2 separate regions of the Homo sapiens genome follow, and region 2 is linked to region 1. Evidence: promoter capture Hi-C in 16 types of primary human blood cells and fetal thymus (Javierre and others, 2016). All regions are on one chromosome and are shown on one strand. Each heading gives the region's core, a stretch centred on a gene start or on the middle of the fragment in contact. The rest is flanking DNA. Distances are from core to core; before and after follow the strand shown. Region 1 holds the start of RPAP3 (RNA polymerase II associated protein 3). Region 2 overlaps HDAC7 (histone deacetylase 7).

Region 1 (5,661 bases), core at 97-2,596:
TAGAGTTTCAATAAGATTTTTTTTAAAGGGTGGAAGGCCAACCGCAGGTGGCTCATGCCTGTAATCCCGGCACTTTGGGAGGCAGAGGTTGGGGGGCAGGGGGAATAGCTTGGGCTCAGGAGTTCCTAGATCAGCCTGGGCAACACTTCGAGATCCCCATCTCTACTAAAAACACAAAAATTAGCCAGGCGTGGTGGAGGGTGCCTATAGTTCCAGCTACTCAGGAGGCTGAGGTGGGAGGATCGGGAGATCGAGGCCACAGTGGGCGGTGACGGGCCCACTACACTCCAGCCTGGGACCAAAAAAAAAGGAGGGGGGGGAATGAAATGAGTTACGTAAATGAGATTATATGGAGATTACAGTACATTTGCCTTTGATAATATAAGACTTGTTCTTGAGCATAGTCTGGGGAAAAAGCAACAAAGTAAAAGATACAGGAAAAAGGATGAGTGATGGGGCAAAATCTCCAAAAAGGTAGGAGAAGAGTCAAAGCTTTAGGCGGAGGGAAGAGAAGTAAGGTGGGAGGGAGAGAGACGGAATTAGAAAAACATTTGTTTAGGACAGTGAAAAATACCTCACTAAGAAGGGACAGTTGCAGATGCAGATAGGTCTTCTGACTCGTAGCCTCAACAACTAAATTAGGTTTAAGCTTCTTTCAGGCAGTGTCCATGTTTGACCATATATGCACAACTCATTCAAAAACAAAACTAGTACAACGCTTTGTTGGGAACTCAAATAAATGAATAAAAGCGCAACAAGTCAGTGAGATGCTGACGGGGGTTAGATGCTTTTCCATTTCACCCATCACCGCTGCTGCTCGAGCAGGCCCAAAAACTCTCCCAGGGACCCTGCGATGGGGCGGGGGTGCGAGCCAGCAATCAAAAACTTCCAGCGCTGGGGGTATCACTTTCACACCCGCTGTCCCGGCGAACACCGCACACCCACGCCGCAAGGGGGCGGGCCCCACCTCGGTCTTTGCGGGAGGGCGGCTCTGCCTTCCCGAGCACTGCAAAATCGCAGCAGGGTGGAGGGTCCGCCTGCAAAGCAGAGCGCGCAGGCCCGGGTTGCGGGGGCGAGCCCCTCCGGGAACGCGCGACCCGAGACGCCGCTGCCCTGGACACCGACGCGCCGCCTCAACGCGCGCCTCCACCGCCAGCCCCGGCCCGCCCCGCCTCACCGGTACCCATAACCGCTACCCCTCCTCCCACCGGCCACCCCAAGGATCTCCTACGCTGCTCCGGGCAGCGAGAACCGCAACGCCCGCTCACCTGACCAGGCCGTAACCCGCCGCACTGCCACCCCGTCAGCCCCGCAGCGACTCACGCCGAGCCCGGCAGTGACTCACGCAAAGCCCCGCCTCCTGCGCTTCCCCACAAGCCCCCGCGGCCTCGCCCCGCCCCCTTTAGCCTGGGCTTGAGCGCGCGCAGAAGTCAGCTTCGTGACTTCCTTCTCAGGATGGAACCAGCTTGGTGGCTTGAGGGTATGTAAAAGCAATATCTGAGCCTTCTGCCTGCTTCCAATATGACTAAGCTTAAAAGGAGATAACCCAAAAACTGCAGGATCATCCTGATTTTCTGATCTCCAAAACAATAAAACCTTGAATATTTCCCTGGACTCCCTTAAACAGTTTAATCCCTAATATTTACCTTGCTAATCTCTGACCTTTGTGACATTAATTTGTCTGACCTTTGTGAGTATAATAACCATGTGAGAAAGTTACTGTTTTTCCACCATGAACAGACTACTGTCAACCGGTAATCCTGGTAATTTTAGGGGATTTTTTTTTCCCTTTAAGTACTGGTTGGCAAACTAGTCCTTCCGTCTAACTCCTCGCATCTTTTGCAAGTAAACCCCTTTTCTAAGTGAATCTATCTCTGAGTCTTTCTTTGACATGTGCCAGTGTTACAATCTGTCTTTAGATATGCTCTGGCTTACAGAGAAAAAAGAACGAAACTTTTAACACTTTTTGCTTCTGCTTCCCGTGTGAGGGAGTCTTCGTTGCAATGACAACTCTTAAACGAAAGCAAAACAAAAATAATTGCAGAAGTCCACAGAAGCAAACACAAACAAATGAAACTTTCCATTTAAAACAGGACTGTAACCTCAAATATCCTCAAAATCCAGATCGGTGGTTCTCAGTCTTGACTGAGCTTTGGAATCACTTAGGGAGTATATACATATACACGTGTGTGTGTGTGTGTGTTTGTGTCTGTGTGTGTGTGTGTGTGTGTGTGTGTGTGTGTGTGTGTGTGTATACTGATTTCTGTGTCCTATCCCAGAGATTCTGATGTAACTAGTCTTGAGTGAAGCCAATCAGAATTTTTTAAAGCATAGGATACGGCTGTGCATTTGAAGCTGGAAGCCACTAACCCAGGCGCTGATCAATGAAGAACTAGGCTGGAGTGCTGTCTTACAAGGTCATATCATTAGCACATCCTTCCCATTGCTTAATTATTGGTATCTTTATATTTTAAAATCATAGTAGTCAAATCATTAAGTGTACGTCAAAATATTTACTAATGAAATGATTCTTTGGTTGTATTAGGGAGATAGAGAACTGACTTTTAATAATTTTTTTATTAAGTATTTAAAAGCAAATATTGATTTACTGGTGTTTTTAACAAAAGCAACCACATTTGTTTTATTAATTCTGACAGAGTTGATTGAGAAGAGAGATAAGGGGGCTAGCTGGCTGCTCTAGTAAAACCTCATAGACCCTTAGGTGACCCTGCTTTTCTCTCTCTTTTTCTCTCTCAAACCATACAATAATCAGAAGTAGCTTAGTGAATATAGAGTCAAAGTGAGAAAAGTTAATCAAATGGTTTTGATGGTCATCATCACCTAATTCTGAGGCTCCTGCTGTCCCACAAAACCTGTGCCTGCAATGGCAGCCTTCTCTCCTGTGAGCTCAGACCTAGGCCACCTTAAGTTCTTTCCTAGATTCCTTGCAGACCTCCCCACTTCTATTGGCAGTTATCTTTAAATGGATTTCAACAAAATGTGTAAATAATGCCTTTCTTTTAAGTCTCTTTTATTCATTTACTCCAGTCATCTCAATTGAACTTATCATTAATACCTGAAGAGTTATTTTCAAAGAGACAAACCTCTTTATGTGTTTTATGTGTTGCAGTTGTAATGGTCAGTGGAAATAAACAGGAGTGTTTATTATTGCAACAATAAAATGCTGCAATTAATGATTGTAAATGCTATTAATTTTAATATCCAAAACAATTATTGGGCTCTTTCAAATAGTTAAAGAGTCTGACAGTTAATGTAAATCTTAAGAAAGGAAGTATTAGCTAAGTAACTTTAGGAAGAAAATGAACCTTGGGACTTCCTGTTATGGAGATACTATGTTAAGTTTGGTTGCATGTGACAGAAAGCCCAAAATAAGAGTGGCTTAAACATGAAAGATTATTTTTCTTTCATGTAAAACTGAATATAAGCAATCCAGGATTAGTGTGACAGTTTCGGTGTGAGACCCAGGCTCCTTCCTGGCTGCTCTGTGATCTTCAGCATATGGCTTTCATTCATGGTTCAAGCTGGCTGCTCAAGCTCCCACGATCTTGTCTGAAATCCAGTCGGCAGAAAAGGGCAAGAGTGGGAATAACGGTACCCCCTGCCCATTAAGAATACTTCCTTTTGCATGCCATTGGTGAGGACATAGACACACGCCTACTTCTGGTTGCAAGGGAGGTCAAGAGTCTGTACTCTTGACAGTCATTTGTGTACCTAAAAACTGAGACTTCAGTGAATAAGGAAGAAGAGGAGAGCAGATACTGAGGGGTAACCAGCAGCCTCTGTCAGGGGTCTTAATAAATATTCTTTAAAAAATAATGAATGAATAAGTGAGTAGATACTACTAGAAATCCAGGCTCACTACAACATGAGGAAAAGGGTTGAATTTTGCAATCCTGATTCTGCTACTGACTAAGAATGTGGCTTAATCTGATCCTCAGTTGTCTAGGTAAAATTAAAGTGGTGAAGATAAAAATACCCACCAGAGTGAGAAAATGAATATAAAAGGACTACTTAGCACAGCTTGGGACATGGTAACAGCTTAACAAATGTTAGTTCTTACCTTTCTCTCCTGCAAAGCTAAGGCCCAGACCCTGGAATACAGTACTCTCTCCTGCATTTCTGTCTTTCTGTCTCCTACTGGACTACCTGGAAGACCTCTGAAGAGGCCTATGAAGAGCACAAGTACTGGGCACCAGTAGGTGAAGGTTAAGGCTGATAGCAGGGATAGTAAATTGCCTCTCCCAGTATAAAATTAAATCTGTATAATAAGTGAGACAATAATTACTATAAGAAAGACTAGCATGTTATTTCACATTCCTTATCTCACAACAATGGTAATATTATCCCCATTTGACTGGTGAGGAAACAATCTGAATAATTAAGAAATTTGCTCATATGGCCAGTAAGCAACAGAGCCTGGCTAGGTACCTGGGCAACATGACTTCAGAGCCTGTACCTGTTACCCCTGTGCTCTACTGACTCACTGTCTTGCCTATTGACTGTGAACATCTCTGGGAAAGGGCAGGACAAGGCCCTGTTTCATCTATCTGCAGGCTATAAACTTGCCCGAGGTATCTCTTCATACCTGACCGTTTTCTAGCATTGTGGCTTGAGTAATCTGTTTACAGATAAGAAGTCTTTTTCTGTATCTCTTTAGCATCTCCTCTTCCCCCAGTGTGGTCAACCTCTGCAACCACAGAAGCTACATCCAGAAATGTCCTTATACTCCTGTGTATTTGATAAAGGGGACTGGTTATTGGGGATGGGGACCACCAATCTCCATTTACCACCCCCCCACCGGCCGCCTCACTATCTGTATGCAATGATCCTTCCACTCTTCATATTACAGAATTCTCTTCCCCTCTTGGCTAGAGAGACTTAGTGAGTCAACAGAGACTTCACCCAGATACCACATTCTTCAAGCCATTCTGAAAAGACTCTAGAGCAAAAGTATCACTGCCAGCCCTGCTCTAGGGAAAAGGCAGGGAGACAGACATTGGAGGGAGGCCATATACAAAGAAGACACTCATTTCAAGTTTTCTTCAATGACTTTAATTGGAAACTTGAACCTTCTAAACCATAGTTCACACCCGGCTCTGTGGTACAGCATTTAGTTCTCAGTGGGGTTGGGGGACAAATGCATAATTGAGGTTAAAATAGGGAACTACAGTCTCTCTGGTCTCGTAGAGTTATTCAAATTATGGCTGCTGGATAAGGCTTAAAATAATTATGTTAATGACACCAAGCTATGGGTTCCTTCTTCTTCTGATGCTGAATCATCCTCCTATGAGGAGAACTCTTTCAAAAAAAAATTGGGGATCAAAATACAAGTCTGTGGCTGCACTAAACATCCACAAGTGGGAAACTTCTTGTTGCAGATACTGAGCTGGACACAAAAACACTCAGGCCTGGAGAAGGCCACCCCACCCCCAGCCCATTCACTGCACCAACCTATTACCCTTCTCCATTCAGCATTGGAGTTCTCCCAGACTCTGTTCTGAGAGGATCTAACTCTGGAAAAAACCAAAGGCCCTTGCTTGATTACTGTGGCCTTACTTCTTTGAGGACCCCAACACAGGGCTGAGTGGTAGTTTACAGAGCTGTGTATAATAACAGCCATTATAGTAATCTTGAATTTCT
Region 2 (5,282 bases), core at 2,331-4,830, 110 kb after region 1:
GCTGAATAATGATCATTTCCTGAAAGAAATGCCTCATGCCTCTTCCAGAGCCGCTGTGCTGGGAATACTCACTGCTGACATCACTGACCTGCCCACCCCTCCTCTGTTCTTCATAAGAGCAACAAGGGAAGGGCTAAAATAAAGTTCACCCCAGCAGATGCTGGCAAGGTACTCCACATCAGGGCCATCAGGGGCAGCCCCATCCCAGACCCTCCCCAAGCTGGCACAGCAGCCCCTCTCCAGGGCCAGCTGGCTTCAAGGCCCTGGGGTCCCTCCTCGCCCTGCCTCACTGGGAGAGGCTGGGAGAGGGAGTGAACAAGAGAAGCAGGGGTCCACCCTATGACTTCTGGCTACAGCTCTCTGGCTGTTCCAGGCCGCGATGGGTGGAGGAATCTGGAACAGGGATTTGGCCTGGTTTTTTCTGTGAACTGGGGCTAGGCCCAGTTTCTGTTCTTCGTGTCTGCAACATTCCCTATCCCTGACCTTCAAAAAATATGAACAATAACATTAATAATGATGATGAATATTCAGTGAGCCCTGACTTCATACCAGGCACAGAGCTAACTTTATTTACATTATCTCCTTTAATCTTCATAGCAACTCCATAAAGTTGAAACTGTAATTATTTTCACATTACAGATGAAGAAGTGGAGGCACAGAGCAAAATGTGCCCATAATCACACTTGCAGGAGAAACCGAGACTCAGCCAAGGCCATCCCATTCCTCCCTCTGCGTCCTTACAGGAAGCTCTCCTGCCAGGCTTTGCCATATATACAGTAGGGTCTAAGGCGATAATTAACATCTGTAGAGTGCTTTAAGCACTAAGTGGGGCACAGAGAAAAGCCCCACTTGAAACTAGGAAATCGAGTCTCAGAGCCATCAGCATCCTTACTCAAGATCCCACACCTTTCGACTAAGATTCAAACCCAGATCTCTGGCGTCAGAATGGCACATTTCTTCCCTATTATCACACGATGCCCCTGGCTCACTCTCAAGGCGGCCCCGGCTGCCTGGAAGGGAGAGTCACACCTCCTTCAGCGCTGGAATCTGGGGGGCGAGGCCTGCGCTCAGCCCCTCGCCCGGTGGGGGTGGGGTGCTGCGCCAGCACCTCCTCAGCGTCTCCGCCGTGACTCACTCCCGGGACCCAGGGGAAGCACAGCCCTGCGCTGCGGGCAAACATCGTCCGCCGCCCGCCCCGCCTCCAGCTCCCCGCCTCCACATTTGCTAACCGAAACAAGGCTGCTGCTATTTTTAACCCTCCAGCTCCCCCTTGCCTGGGGCTCCCCCCTTCACCTCCCCACCCCCCGCCCCAGCCGGGTGCCACCAGCCTGTCATTCTGAGAGCAGTTCTATAACCTGAACGCGCCTGGGAGGGCGCAGCGGACGTCCCGGACGTGCAGGTTTGTGGGGCAAGCAAAACAAGACGGTTACAGCCCAATCGCCGAATTCCCCCACCCCAGACTCTTTCCGAACCTGTCACTCCCAGACTGCCCTGCTCCTCCTGCCATTCTGGGGGTTGGGGTAGAGGGGAATGGGACTTCTGGGCTGGGGTCACCTCAGGAGCCAGAGCTAGGCTCCTTGGAATGGGTCCTGCAGGGAGGAAGCTGAACTGAAGGGGATTGGAGTTCCCCTACGGATCCCCAGGGTGAGAGGCTGACCCTATAGGCCCAAAGCTTCTGACCACCAGGGTTTACAATCCCTGCAGGCAAGATGGAGGAAAAAGGAAGTGGTGCGGAGACAGGGTGGGGATGGTGAGCTTAGCCCAGGGCCTTCCTGACGAGGAGAAGTCCCCTCCCCATCCTGCTGTGGGGGCTGTGGAGCTTGGGCGGGAAGGCCTGGGAGTCGGGAAGAGCACTGAGCAGCCTCCAGAGAGGCCCAGGGTGGAAGGCAGCCTTGGCAGTGTGCAGGGGGAAAAGCGGACCTGGAGTCAGGGCTCCTTTGACACTCAATAATCTAAGGCAAGGGCCAGGCAACACCTTCCTGCAGCCTGAAGCTCTGGGTCCCCAGAAAAACCTTCCTGGGAGAAGAGGTTGGAGGTGAGAGGGGCTGAGGCCTGCTGGCCTAGAGCCGGAACCTGACACCCAAGTTGCTGATGTGAAAGTTAACCTCCTGAGAGGGGTGAAGCGTAGAGCTGCAGGTGGACCAGACAGGGGCATTTCCTCCCAGCTGATGTAGAGCCCGTGTCTTGAATCAGCCCCATCTGGCCCTCTGGTCTCAGAGTCTCCCCCAGTTTGGGCAGCAGATTCCAAGGGCCCAGGAGAGACTCTGGAGAGCCCAGCCAAAGGGCCATCTGGGCTCAGGTTTTTCCCGTGTGCCTCTCCTGTCCCAGCCTCCATCCTCCCTTGAGCCCTGTCCTCTCTGGTCCCAACCCCAGCCTTCCTTTCTGGTTCTGTCCTCTCTTCCAGGGCCCAGGTCCCCTCTAGGCCTTGACCCCCTCTCTTTGGTGATTCCTGAGCCAAGTAAAGTAAAGTGGCCACAGAGGCAGCAGGCTAGACCAGAGGGAAGGGACTTGGCACAGTAGTTCCCCAACTGGGGAGATGGCGGAGAAGGGAAGGAGGTGGGAGGAAGGTGAAACAGGAGAGCTCCTGGGGAGATGCTGCCTCCTTCTCAACATTCAGTATGGCCACAGGGCCCTGGACTCAGCCCCATGGAAGAAAAAGGGTGCTCCCCAAGCAAGGGAGTGGCTTTGATCTTGGCCTTGTGCAGCTCCCCCTTCTGCTCTCCCCTCTGCCAACCTTTGGGGCTGCTTAAGGGGAGGAGACTGCCATCTTCCATGCCAAGTGAGAGGCTGGCAATTCAGCTCCAACCCTTAGCCATTGGTCAGCCCAGGGCCTCCACCTGCATCCAGGGAGTTCACAAGCACGGCTCCAGAGGCTCTGATGGCTCACTTCCAACCTGGGGAGGTGGGAGACGGCATCAATGTCACCTTCTTAGGCAGTCCTCCCCTGGCCACCCTATCAAAGGAAGTCCCACCTTGTTATTCTTTATTGCCATGCCCAGTTCATTTCCTTCTTAGGGCTTATCACAGTGTGTAACTAGTCACACATACTCATTCCTTTACTTGCCTACTTGTTCTGTTTGTCTTCTCCACGAGAGTGGAAGTTCCCTGAGGTCAGATGTTGTGCCTGTGTGTTCACTGCATATCTGTACCCAGTGCCTAGAACATTGCAAGGCTCAGCTAGGATCCAGTGAATGGATGAATTGCTGAGTGACTGGCTCAGCAACATGGTTCCCTGGTTGCCAACATTGACCTTTAGGGATGACACTCAACAGTTCCAGGATTTCTCCAAAAAGGAGGCAGCAGAATGTAGCAAGAAGAACAAGGTCAGAAAACAAGAAAGCCAGGACCCCAGAGGAAAGATCAGCCCCAATTAGCACCAGCCCAATCGGGTCCACGTCATCACAAAGTGTAGTTATGAGCACACATGCACACACACACACAGGGGGTACATGGGTGAGCACAAAGTCCTGGACAGGTCTTAGAAGCCTTGAGTTTTCTCTTGGTTCTTCCTCTTAATGGCCCTGTCACCTTAGAGAAACTACATACCTTCTGTGGGTCTATTTCCTCAAAAGAAAAAATGAAGAGGTTGACCCAGGGCAGTGGTCCTCAAACACAGCCTTGCCCCAGGATCACCTGAAGCACCTGTTAAAATCTGGATTCCCAGGCCCCACCCCTCAGATTCTGACTAGTCAATCTGGAATGGGCCTGATGATCTGAATGTTTTTAATTTTGAGACAGTCTCACTCTATTGCCCAGGCTGGAGTGAGGTGGCGCAATCTCGGCTCACTGCAACCTCCACCTCCTGGGCTCAAGCAATTCTTCTGCCTCAGCCTCCCAAATAGCTGGGACTACAGGCCTGCGCCACCATGCCTGGCTAAATTTGTATTTTTAGTAGAGATGGGGTTTTGCCCTGTTAGCCAGGCTCGTCTCGAACTCCTGCCTTCAAGTGATCTGCCTGTTTCAGCCTCCCAAAGCCACCGCGTCCAGCCAGGATTTTTTTTTTTTTTTTTTTTTACAGAGTCTTGCTGTCACCCAGGCTGGAGTGCAATGGCGTGATCTTGGCTCACCGCAACCTCTGCCTCCCGGGTTTAAGCAATTCTCCTGCCTCAGCCTCCCGAGTAGCTGGGATTACAGGCGCGCACGCCACACCTGGCTAATTTTTTGTATTTTTAGTAGAGACAGGGTTTCGCCGCATTGGCCAGGCTGGTCTTGAACTCCTGACCTCAGGTGATCCACCTGCCTCGGCCTCCCAAAGTGCTGGGATTACAGGCGTAAGTCACCGCGCCCGGCCCAGGATCTTTATCTTTAACACATTCCCCAGGTGACTCTGAAGCAAATGGTCCAGGAACCCGCATTTGAGAATCCCAAATGAGATGGTGTTTTACAAGCCAGCATCTGGACTTCTATTAAAAAGCCACTCCTGCCCAGATATATACCCCCAAAAAACATGTCCATACATATGGACATGTTTACCCCACACAGGGCCATAACCTGAAAAGGTGTGCACCATACAGATGATGCACATCTGTCTTTTATGTGTGCATATTCCCAAAACACCCAACACAGAACCACCACATAGATCACAAATTGCCCGGAACCACCACATCAGCATACACAGGGTCTGGGGGGAGGGGTACACACACAGATACCCACCACGCACCCAGTGTGTGCTCACACACATCTCATGCAGACCCACACTAAACAGACGCTGTCCTGAATTTATTTTGCCTCTGGGAACTGGTCCAGGACCAAAGGAGCTATGCTCTGCTGATGAAAACATCCCTCCCACCTCTGCCACCCCCACCCCTGCCCCTTGCCCCAGGCAGCATGCTACCCACCTCTCCCTTGTAGGAGGAGGGAGACTGGAGGAGGGCAGTGGGGATGGGTTGGGAGGAAACAAGAGGCTAGGCCAGCGACTCAAGTTGCTCAGGGCCCTTCCGGGCGTCCAGCTCCCCTCTTTCCCTCTCCCTTCCCCCCAGAAGACGCCAAAGGGCCTTCCCCCAGCCCGCGAGTCCATGCTCACTCAGGCCACTCGCCTAGATTCCCAGGCCCCTGATCCTAGGGAGCCAAAAGGGTTAGGGAGGTGGCTAGATCTGGGGACTCCTCCTAATACTCAGGCCTCTAAGGAAAGGGCTGTCTGGGGGCACCTTCCTGTAGCCCTAAGGCCTGGGGCCTCCAGGGAAGGTTACCACAGAAACAGGGGGAAAATATTACAAGGAAACACAATACCCGGCAGGGTCACCTGCTGACCGGGCTTCCTGCTGTGTTGCCCACCCCCAGCT

What was found. Contacts are between HindIII fragments. The CHiCAGO score rates a contact against its expected background, and 5 or more counts as called.
Region 2: a fragment that was not itself captured here is called in contact with the fragment with the promoter of RPAP3 in region 1 in 1 of 17 cell types (monocytes); the score reaches 7.0 in monocytes.

The regions. Positions count from the first base shown.
Region 1 is chr12:47,704,684-47,710,344 of GRCh38, forward strand. RPAP3 (RNA polymerase II associated protein 3) reads right to left here and starts at 1,347. Exons shown (of 17, transcript NM_024604.3): 1 at 1,269-1,347. RPAP3-DT (RPAP3 divergent transcript) reads left to right here and starts at 1,405. Exons shown (of 4, transcript NR_183480.1): 1 at 1,405-1,480. It overlaps ENDOU (endonuclease, poly(U) specific), which reads right to left. Exons shown (of 10, transcript NM_001172439.2): 10 at 5,051-5,661. RefSeq lists enhancers at 561-1,062, 1,063-1,562, 1,283-1,577, 1,509-1,658 and silencers at 809-898, 929-1,218, 1,289-1,368. The HindIII fragment of the contact is 881 bases long and covers 648-1,528 here.
Region 2 is chr12:47,811,901-47,817,182 of GRCh38, forward strand. The region is part of intron 1 of HDAC7 (histone deacetylase 7); the gene reads right to left. Among named protein-coding and RNA genes, the nearest start is that of HDAC7, 5.4 kb to the right of the region's middle. RefSeq lists a silencer at 1,122-1,311 and enhancers at 1,892-1,941, 1,952-2,031, 5,198-5,282. The HindIII fragment of the contact is 3,821 bases long and covers 1,671-5,282 here.